2 separate regions of the Homo sapiens genome follow, and region 1 is linked to region 2. The links are contacts of gene promoters, found by promoter capture Hi-C in human tissues and cell types (Jung and others, 2019). All regions are on one chromosome and are shown on one strand. Each heading gives the region's core, a stretch centred on a gene start or on the middle of the fragment in contact. The rest is flanking DNA. Distances are from core to core; before and after follow the strand shown. Region 1 overlaps IQCB1 (IQ motif containing B1). Region 2 holds the start of SLC15A2 (solute carrier family 15 member 2).

Region 1 (5,834 bases), core at 1,920-4,419, 69 kb after region 2:
GCTCCTGGATGTATTAAGCAAAAATAAATATATCTTATTTCCTTTTGCCTTAGAAATAATAAACATCACACCTTTAGGAAGCTCAGAGTTGAAGAAAATCAAACAAGATATATATTGTTATGATCTCATTCAATATTGCCTCTTGGTCCTCAGTCAAGATTATTCTCGAATCCAGGGTGGTTGGACTACAATTTCCCAGCTTACACAGATATTAAGGTAAAATAAAGCAGTAAGTCAGCTGTTCTTGAGGGATGTAGTAGTTGATTCTGATTTTCAACATTTGCTTTTTATTTATCTGCCTAACAAGCATTGGCAACCTCCTGTTGTAGGTTTTGGTTGTACTTTTCCTTCATATTATATGTTATTATTCATAATTTTACTTCAGATTATTTGACTGTCTAAAATTTTCCTCCACAAGCTTAATGAAGATGGTGATCATTTTTTTTCTCACCACTGAATTCCAAGTGCCTAATATACTTTTTATTGATTAAGGAATTTTTAAAGAAGTGAAGAAATTAAGGCACTGGCTCTGTACCTGAGAAACTTAAAATAGAGATTGGGTGACAGTCATGTAAGTATATGATACAAAGCAGAATGAAATCAGTGCTAAAATGAAAGTATGCAAGCAAGTACTATAGGAGAACTGATAAAGAAACATTTTATTTCACTATATCAATGTAGCTATCAACTGTGTATTTCATTAAGCAACCCAAATACTGTCAATAAAATTTAGAAGTAGAATTTACTGATCTACTGCCATGCTAGAAATTAATAGAAGAGAAATAAACATTTTTTAAAGGAGGTAGTAAAATAAACCAGATGTTCTTAGTGCCTAAGCTACTTCCTGATTAATAAGTGAAAGTGTGTATTTACTAACTGGATCCTAGCCTTCTTTTTTTGTTTTTCCTAAATAAGCCATTTGAATTTAATAAGCTATTCCCACTGAAAGGGTTTGTCTTGGATGCTAGATTTCTAAGCTGCTTAATCCTACTGTGTTACTTGGTAAAGGCCAAATTTAAAGCACACAGTTACAAAGAACAGTTGAAAAATATATGTGATATTCTTTTTCATACTTTAATTTTCAAGATTGATTTTCTTAAGTAAATAAAGCCTTATGTTTTTGTTTTGATTCGATATGCTAGTTTATGATGATATTGATTAAGCCAGGCTCTCGGGTGGAATTCAAGACTTAAGAAATTCCCATGTTTCTGAATGCACAAATAAACATAATTTCATTTGTTAATCTTCTCAATCAAAAAAGATACTCTTAAGTAATTAACTTTAGGAACCAAAGAGAAAAGAAAAGCTGATACATGTGAGCATTAGCCCATTAACTTTAGGAACCCAGGTGCAAATAAACAACAACAACAACAAAAAGTGATACATGTAAATATTATCCACTTAGGTTTTTTTTTAACTTTTATTTTAGGTTCAGGGGTACATGTGGAGGTTTGTTTTATAGGTAAATTGCATACTCAATGTTTGTTCTCACTTATAAGTGAGAATATGCAGTGTTTGGCTTTCTGTTCTTGTGTTAGTTCACTTAGGTTAATGGCCTTCAGCTCCATCCATGTTGCTGCAAAGGACATGATCTTGTTCTTTTTTATGGCTGCATAGTATTCCATGGTGTATATGTACCACCCCAAAGAAATATACCATTTTCTTTATCCAGTCTGCCATTGATTACTTAGATTTTTAACATGCTCAATACATAGTTGTTATTGCTTATTAGTGTCCATACATTTTGTTGAAAAGACTCAAACAGCAGTTTTTGTTCATTAGAGTACACACATAGAGACCATTCTTGGGTTTGAGGCTCTTTTGAATGTTAGTTTACAGAAAAACCTTTTATTATTGGGACTTCTGACTTATGTACAGGAAATGACTTTTATGTACAATTTTAAGAGGACCTTTTTCTCTAAGTGACTTTCTCTCCTCTAATGTATATTGTAAAGTGTTCCTACTAGAGTTAGGTTTTGCCGTTTGTCCTTCTGATATAAGGAATATGCAAATGAGTATTTTGCAAAAAGTAGATCTATTGGAAGGTAAAATTGGTATGAAATTAGTGTTTGGTTTCCTTATGTATCCCTTGCAAACAAATCCTACTTGGGCATTTTTCAGCTATTAGGTGTCTAAAATGTATTAGTTAACACAAATGCTTTTCATAAATTAAACTCTCAAGGTATCCTATAGCTTTGAGAATGATTATAGCCAATTCACTGAAAACTTAGCTTCTCTTTATTGTGAGCCAAGTGTCTTTTATTTGCTGAATGAGCTGATATGTAGGTTTTTAGGATACATAAATCCCAGACCTAAGTACAAGCATGGTCCATACCACTGTTTACTTTTCTAGAAAGTTGTTAGACTAATTTTTCAACAAAAATTCTTTATTGTCTTGGTAACAAAAGAAGCATACTAAAAATTCTCAATAAGGCACAGTGTCTCTAGAAGCTTGAGCATTCAACATAAACTTCTAATTAACACGAACTTGTGCTCTTATTTCAGCCATTGCTGTGTGGGCTTGGAGCCAGGAGAAGATGCAGAGGAATTTTACAATGAATTACTTCCATCAGCTGCAGAAAATTTTCTAGTTTTGGGGAGACAATTACAAACATGTTTTATCAATGCAGCTAAGGTATGTGTTTATTTAGTCTTTTGTAGCTAAATCAGTTTAATTCTTAAGAAGCTGTTCTGTTATTTTTTAAATGTGCAATATTTGGCTGAAAGTACAATTAAAGTAGTGAATTTAAACATTTTCAAAGTTACAACCTTCCAAAAATCATCTCTATGTTTGAAAAATTTTTAATGCTGACTGAAGCTTGCCATTTGATTTTTTGAAGGATCTGCCTTGCTACTTTACTTGTTGGGCAGCACCCATAGACAATTATTTCCATAACATCTTTCTAAACATACTTTTTACTTAAATTAACAGTAGAGGAAAGTATGTTCTCTAGGGCTAGGGCTTTTCTAAGTAGCTCCAGTAGTGAAGAATAAAGGTGAACTTCCTATTTGATCTCTCATATCTTCTCCAGTCAAAATATTCAACCCAAACATAGGGGTCTTTTCAAGTATTTCTTGGTTGCATTATGCTAGATGCTATACATGTGCTCTTTTTTTGACCCAGGGATTTAGAAGTGTGTTGCTTAATTTCCAAATATTTGAAGATCTACTAGATACTTTATTGTTATCAATTTCTAATTTAATTATGTTTTGGTCAGATAACATTCTCTATATCATTTCAATCCTTTGGAATTTTTTCAGACTTGTTTTATGGCCCTCCGCATATGTTTTATCTTTGTGAATGTTCATTAAAAGAAACTTTTGTGGGCTGGGCGCAGTGGCTCACACCTGTAATCCCAGCAGTTTGGGAGGCCGAGGCGGGCGGATCACCTGAGGTTGGGAGTTTGAGACCAGCCTGACCAACATGGAGAAACCCTGTCTCTACTAAAAATGCAAAATTAGCCGGGCATGGTGGCACATGCCTATAATCCCAGCTACTTGGGAGGCTGAGGCAGGAGGATCACTTGAACCCAGGAGGCAGAGGTTGCAGTGAGCCAAGATAGTGCCATTGCTCTCCAGCCTGGGCAACAAGAGCAAAACTCCATCTGAAAAAAAAAAAAAAAAGAAAAGAAAAAGAAACCTTTGTTTTGCACAGTTCCATCTTAACTGAAACTCGTGCATGTCAGAACCATGCAAAGGTTTTGATATGCACAGGTTTTATTTAATATGGTGCCATGCAAAAGCTAGGACTACTTGTATACCCAAATGTGAACTCTGCAGTTGTATGTAATGTTCTATAAGTGTTAATTAGGTCAATTTGGTTAGTAGAGTTGTTGAAGTCTTCTAAATTCTCTTTTTTTTTTCTTGTCTACAGTTCTACTTTTTAGTGAGCAAGGGTATTAAAATTTCCAACTATGGTTGCGGATTTGTCTAATTCTGTCTTTAGTTCTATATGTTTTTGCTTCATGTATTACAAAGCTCTGTGATTAGATACATACACATTTAGGAATATTATATCTTCTGGATGAATGAAAGCTATTATCATTATGAACTGGTCTTTTTTTTTTTTTTCAACCTTACTCATGGACTCAGGTCACATGAAATGATATTTATCTCTGATAATAGACCTTATCTTGAAGTCTACTTTGTTTACTATTACGAATATTGCCACTCCAGTTTTCTTATGATTAGTGTTTACATGATACACTTTCTGCAGTTTCACCTTTCATGGTTTCAGTTACCCATGGCCAATAGTGGTTCAAAAATATTAAATGGAGAATTCCAGAAATAAACAATTAAATTTTAAACGGCATGCTGTTCTCATAGCATGATGAAGTCTCATAGTGTCCTTCCCAGGATGTGAAGCACCCCTTGACCAGCATATCAGCACTGTACAGGCTGCCTGCCAGTTGGTCACTTAGTAGCTGGTCTCAGTTTTCAGATTAAAAAAAAAAGTATATATAGGGTTCAGTACTATCCACACCTTCAGGCATCCACTGGGGGTCTTGGAATATGTCTTCCATGGATAAGGGGGAGACTATTGTACATCATTTCTCAACCTTTACTTTTTAACCTCTGTCTTATACTTAAAATGAGTCTGTTTTAAATAGCGTATTGTCAGGTCTTGCTTTTTCATCTAGTCTGACAAGCTGTTGTTTTAAAGGGTATCATTTACTTGCATTTAATCTAATTTGTGCTATGGTTAGGTTTAATTCTACCATTTTGCTATTTTTAAGAAATTTGTTCCCAGTTTCTATCTTTTGTGCTATTTTGTCATGTATTTTACTTTTACATATATTATGAAATCTACCATGTGTTATTTTTACTTTAAATAGTGTATTGACTTTTCAATAATTTAAAGAAATGAAAGAAAAATGATTTTTTTATATCTACTATGTCTGGTTGTCTTTATTCCTTCAAACAGATCTGAATTTTCATTTGGTATCATTTCCTTTAAGCCTGACAACCTCCTTTAGCATATCTTACAGTGCAATTCTGCTGGTAATGAATTCTCTCAGCTTTTTGGTTATCTGAAAATGTCTTCATGATGCCTTCACTTTTGAGGAATATTTCTGTTGCATGTGTATAATTCTACTTCATCAATTTTTTTTCCTCTTTTTGCACTTTAAAGATTTTTTTCCATTGTCTTCTGGCATCTTTTGTTTCTGATGTAAATTCAGCCTTCATTCTTCTTGTCATTCTCCTATACATATTGCACCTTTTTATCTTTGGCTTTTTTAAGATGTTCTCTTTGTTTGGTTTATTTTGTTTTATTTTCAGCAATTTTACTTTGATGAACCTTGTTGTAGATTTCCTGATGTCTATCTTGCTTGGAGGTCCTGAGTTTCATGTGTCTGAGTTAATGTATTCATATTAAGAAAATTTTCAGCTAATATTTTTTCAAATACTTTTGTTTGCCCTATTCTCTCTACCTTCACTCTGGGACTTCTGGTTGTTGAGGCTGCCTTCATCCTTTTCTTGTTGTTGTTTACTTCAGTTTCGATAATTTCTATTGTTCTGTCTTCAAGTACACTGACCCTATCTTCTACAGTGTCTAATGTGCTAATAATCCTACCTAGTGAATTTTTCATTTCATATATTGTATTGTTCTATGATTTTTATTTGCTTCTCTTATTGATTGTTTACCATATTTATTATAGTTATTTTTAAGTTGTTGTTTATAAATCCAATACCTGGATCATTTGAGAGTCTTTTTATTATCTGTTTTTTCTCTGGGTCAAATTATCTGGGTCAAATTTTTCTGCTTCTTCACATCTCTGTTAATTTTTTGTTTTATAATGGTAACTGTGAATGACACATTGTAGAAATTCGTA
Region 2 (5,884 bases), core at 820-3,319:
GCTCGCAGAATTCATTCACCACAATGAAGGCAATGCTCAGTGGATAGTTGGAGCCACAGATTGTCTATTCAACAAGAAGGCAATGATTCAAGCATGAGCTGTTTTTCCCTGTTTCAACAATTAGATTTCTTCAAAACTGAAAAATTCATTTATTTCAAATCATCTTGGTAGGTAATGGAGCAATGGTCTCTACTCTTCATGACACACCTATTAGGTAACACTAAAAGTGCTTATATTACTGATTTAGAAATAATAGAAGCTACTCTGAATATTATTTTGTTTCTTATTTATTTTACATGGACTTGCTCAAATATTCCTTGGACCTGCTCATCTTCCCACAACTACTAAATGAAAAGCCTAGGGCTCTGGGGCAGAAGAATGGTGATATTTACTTCCTAGGAACAGAATAAAGAGGTAGCCTATGGAATACCTGATATCCAAGCAGTGAGATTCAGATGTCAGTCTCTGCTTAGCCCCACTATGGGGACTCTTGTCCCCAGCTGTTCTGTTTGCCATGCTGGGAGGAATCCTGGCAATATGATAGCTTCTACTTCAGAGGCTGCTGGAGTCAGGCACAGAGCCCAACATGGAGGACAGAGATTCCTAAGGGTAAGCTAATTGATCACCTTGACTTTAGGCAGAGTTCTTAAATCCTGTAAAATTAAATGTCTACTCTTCCTACTAAAGAGATTCTATAACATTTTCATGATAATCCTACTGGACATTAAAAGAATTATGCTTTTCATGTAATATATCAGTCAGAATATAAGGAATGTTATGTTTTATTTTAATTCCCTATCTATTACAATAGACCAACTAACATGAGAAGAGACATAGAGGTATCTGTCCTCAGTACAGTCAAATCTTGTAAGATTTATATTGCCTCATTTCATGAGAAGTATATACATCTTTGCAAGTAGCCCTAAATTCTTTGGGACCAGAAGAGATATCATTAACTAAAAAAATAGGCAAAATAATAAAGTAATGTATTATTCTTTTAACCCTAGGGATATATATAAATGATCCTCCTAAATATTAATATATTTTAATGTTTTATAATAGCTTGTTTGAAACATACAATGAACTGGGCTTCTTACCTTTGCAGCTCACAGCTTGAGAATTATGCAATCTGGAGTTTAGCCGACACACTGTTAGCTAGTTAGGCAACACTGCCACTGGCTGTGTTAACATACTGATACTGGCATTGTCACTACACCTGTCTCAAAACCTCTGTTCTGTTATTCCAAAGAAATGAGAATAACATCACCTTTTGGCCCACTGTAAGAACTCAGTAAATTTTGGCTATCATTACTATATCCTCCCCACTTACAGAATTTTAGTGTAAGAATTGACTGAGATGATGAGTTTAGAAGTGCTTTAGCGAGTATATAAATGCAAAACATTACTATTCTCTGTTTCTCTGTCCTATCTCCCACAGTAAACTGGGAACACATAGTAACAGAAATTGGATCTATTCTGAAACTTCCATTGGTGTTCAGCAGAAGACTCTGCACACAGGGAGAACTAAGGGCAGAGTTTTTATATTGGTAAAGAAAGAACAATCACACACAGTTCTTCAGACAAGAATGCTTGCCAAGTTTCCCTGGACATTCGAATTGCTTTTTTCCCCCAGGGAAACAGAATATGCAATGAAATTCAGCAAGTCCCTGGATCCCAACTGAAGAACTTTGACTACCTCTTCCTGCTGCTTTGTCTTCTTATGTAAAGGAAGCTTCTGTTTAGATTTGGTTTCAGGTGAATTCTAAATCCAAGAGAGAAGCATTTTAATACCCTAATACAGCTCAGCTGGAAGCTCCAGAGCCCAAGGAAGAGAGCCAAAAGAGGGAGGCCATTCCTCTCAGAGGCAGGATTGAATCTAAGGACTCACCGGAGATGGCTTCTTTGGAGGGCTAGGTGGTCGAGGTGGTACCTCTTCAATGGAGACAGGTGAAAAAAGAGTTTCCTTGGACTCATTTTTCTGGAAAGGATTCATGGCTGGCTCCTTACTCTCTCTCTCTCCTCAAGCATTTGGCTTTAGTAGGCAGTTAGGACAGCTGCCAGCCTACTCTGAAAAGAAGGACTGGGAGGGGGAGCTGGTGGCTTCAGCAACTCAGTTTAACTCTGTGGGTGTCAGCTTCAATAGCTTCCTGATCCAGAGCAAAGCAGGAAGCTATAGTTAAAAAGAATGTGTAAAAGTACAGCACAGCAAAGTGAAAACATGCCAAAGACAGAATGAAACAATGCTAGAGAACTGATTAGAAAGTCTATGTTTAAGAAAGATTATCTTTGCAAAGGAGTAGAAGATAGTTAAGAACACAACACCTCGAGCACAGATTGAAAAACTGATTCCATGGTCAGGCGCGGTGGTTCACGCATATAATCCTAGCACTTTGGAAGGCCCAGGCAGGCGGATCGTTTTAGGTCAGCAGCCTGGCCCACATGGTGAAACCCCGTCTCTACTAAAAATACAAAAAAAAAATTAGCTGGGTGTGGTGGCGGGCGCCTATAATCCCAGCTACTCAGGAGGCTAAGGCAGAAGAATCACTTGAACCTGGGAGGCGGAGGTTGCGGTGAGCTGAGATTGCACCATTGCACTCCAGCCTGGGCAACAAGAGCGAAACTCCATTTCCAAAAAAAAAAAAAAAGAAAAACTGATTTCAGGGTAACAATAGCTGTAATTTATTGAACATCTACTATTGAAAGGTTAATATATATGAATTACATCTATGTTGTATATCTATAACATATATATTTATTCTAATTCATATTACTATCCCCATTTTATAGAAAGTAATGTTCCCAGAGGTTAAGAAATTTGTTCAAAGTACCTGTCCACTAAGTGGCAGATCTGGAATTTTCACTATGCCATGACAGCTGGGAAAAGTGGAGTTAGTGTCAGTCATTATTCAGGTATGGAGGTTACATAAATGGAATGTAGGAATGCAGAGGATTAAAATGCATTGGAGAAGGAAAGTCATCATAAAACTGAGTTTGGAAGATAAGAAAGATGGTGAGTTTTGGCTGGGTGCAGAGGCTTACGCCTGTAATCCCAACACTTTGGGAGGCCGAGGTGGGCTGATCACAGCTCAGGAGTTCAAGATTAGCCTGGCCAACATAGTGAAACCCCATCTCTACTAAAAATACAAAAATTAGCTGGGTGTGGTGGCACGCGCCTGTAGTCCCAGCTACTCAGGAGGCTGAGGCAGGAGAATCGTTTGAACCCAAGAGGCAGAGGTTGCAGTGAGCCGAGACCCCACCACTGCACTCCAGCCTGGGCGACGGAGCAAGACTTGAAAGAAAGAAAGAAAAGAAGGGAAAGAAAGGAAAGAAAGAAAGAAAAGAAGGGAAAGAAAGGAAAGAAAGAAAAGAAAAGAAAGGAAGGAAGGAAGGAGACTTTTGTTTTCAACATCATAAAAGTTCAGCTAGAAATAGCCTATAAGCAATTAAAGAGGTGGGGCTAAAGAAAATGAGAGAAAAGGATTGGTGATATACATTTGGGAACCATTGTTCTTCTTTGCTAAAGTCACTCCTTATATTTTCATTTTCTCACTTCAAGATTAATCTATTCTTTCATTTAATAAATAAAATTTAATTTGAGCAAAAATTGTGAACCAGTTACTTTCTAGGTACTGTTGTGAACACCATTTTCCTTAATTATACATTTAGTCCTTATCAGAAGAGGAACAAGAACAAACATCATAATGCTAGGTGCATTTTATGCTGTGTTATTTTTGTCAAGCCAAAGAAGTAAAAGGATAAGAAAAGAGCATGGTGCCCCTCTAGTTGTTTGTCAAAAGAAAAGGGAAAAGAAAGGCTAGAGAGCTATAAAAGAAATAAGAAAAATGAAGACTAAATCAACAAGGTCAGGCAACATCAGAATGAATTATTTTATTTGAAAATACAAGAGAGAAAACCTATAACTCTATCCCTCACAAAATTTTTACTTTAACTATTCAAATAATTTATTGACAAATAGGGCCAGGATAAACTGTCTTTTCCTCTCTAAACTTTAACTCAGACTTTGACCATATCTTCTCAGCTTCTATTACACCCCTCATTTCTACTGTCTCCCACCAACCTTTACCCAAAGAAGAGTCCAGCTTCATTTCTGACTGTGGCATTAATAATTAAGGTATAGTTATTCTTTCAGGAAGCACTGCCATTTCTGAATTGGTTTGGTTAATGACTTTGGCTGGAAAATAAATGGTCAGAAGTTACTAGTCAAGTTAACTAGCAGAGGCACAGATGCCTTGAAGATCCACTTATGTTGTGGCTTTCCTTGATCTGGCAGAGTAGATGGAATAGCACCTGTATGCAATGTACCAATTTATTTGTGCTCATAGGTATCCCAAATACTAAACTTTGGAGTATTGGCAGTGGTTTTCTGACACTCCTTTGTTTAGACAAAATTCTTCTTTTGATTATGGCAGTATAATGATAGTATTCACAGAATCGAATAATATCAGAGATGGAAGGAATCTTAATCTTGTCCTATGTGAGTGAAACTTCCCTGAGGATAAGAATCATTTTCCTTTGGAAATTCCAATTCAGTAGATCTCGGTAGGGATCTAAGAATCTTTGTTTTCAACGAGCACCTCTAGCAATTCTTACGCTAGGAATTTGGGAAACACTGGTCATAAATTCTCTCCTATTCTATTTCAGAGGAACTCAGAAGGGACAAAGCAAGGACTGGAACCCTAGGCTCCCAAGGCATAGTCTTGAGCCATTTATATAATATTAAGATGGCTCTTAAATCCTATTATTTTGCTAACATCAGATAGAAGGAGAAAGAGAAGAGATAAAAAGAAAGCACCTCCCAGACAGAAATGAGCACCAACTATTCTGAGACAAACAATAAAAGTGAAAGAATCTAAGTATCAGTGATGAGTAAAGAATATTTGTGTCCTTAGTGATTACAACATCAGAAAACATTTATTATGACATATGATAAAGTTTTAGTTATATATACACAAAAGTAGACTGCTGCTCTAAGTTAATAGAATCTAATATAGTCAGAGAGAAGAGGAAAATATGAAATTAAAAGGGAACATATATTTAACAAGTTCTCTAAATTAAAATACACAAAAATAAATTGTATCAAACATCAGTCACAAAGAAATAGAAAAGGGAAATCTAAGGAATACATTTATATATTTATTTATATAAATAGATTTAGGAATAAATCTAACAAAAGATCTTCTAGACCTCAATATTAAAAACTATAAAATTTTACTGAAAGAAATTGAAGAAGATCTAAATAAATGGAAACATACCATGCTTATGAATTGGAAGGCTCATATTGTAAAGATGTCAACATTTCTCAAAACATTCTACAGTTCTAAAACAAAATCCCAGCAGGTTTTGTGAGTATAGAAAATGACAAGATGACTTTTTAAAGTCAACTTGGAAGTGCAAAGAGCCAAGGATAGCAAAGTCAATCTTAAAGAATAATGGTGGAGGATTGTATTACCCAATCTAAGACCTATTTTAAAGATAGTTATTATATCAGAGTGGAATTGACACAGATAACATAGGGCAACCAATGAAACAACACAGCGTTCAGAAAGTGATTCACACACATAATGTATATAACAAAGATGATGCTGTAATACAGTGAAGGAAATGATGTTGATTTCAATAAATAAACACCATTTGAATATCCATACCCCCTAAATTATTTTGACCCTTATTTTACAACATACACAAAAATAATTTCTATATAGATTGCCTATCTAAATGTTAAAGTAAAAAAAAATGTCTTTAGAGGAAAACATAAGAGAACATCTTTATGATTGTGGAGTAAGTCAGCATTTCTTTTTTTTCTTTCTTTTTTTTTTTGAGACGGAGTCTCTGCTCTGTCGCCCAGGCTGGAATGCAGTGGCAT

The links. The method cuts DNA at HindIII sites, captures the fragments that hold promoters and counts their contacts. A contact is called where the count stands out against the background at its distance.
Region 1: a fragment that was not itself captured here is called in contact with the fragment with the promoter of SLC15A2 in region 2 in 2 of the 25 tissues and cell types used here (H1 embryonic stem cells and hippocampus).

Annotation. Positions count from the first base shown.
Region 1 is chr3:121,822,852-121,828,685 of GRCh38, reverse strand. IQCB1 (IQ motif containing B1) reads left to right here. Exons shown (of 15, transcript NM_001023570.4): 4 at 54-216; 5 at 2,506-2,635. Among named protein-coding and RNA genes, the nearest start is that of IQCB1, 9.3 kb to the left of the region's middle. The HindIII fragment of the contact is 3,467 bases long and covers 1,436-4,902 here.
Region 2 is chr3:121,890,586-121,896,469 of GRCh38, reverse strand. SLC15A2 (solute carrier family 15 member 2) reads right to left here and starts at 2,069. Exons shown (of 22, transcript NM_021082.4): 1 at 1,889-2,069; 2 at 1-64. The coding sequence starts at 1,993. RefSeq lists enhancers at 2,577-3,109, 3,110-3,643. The HindIII fragment of the contact is 16,247 bases long and covers 1-5,884 here.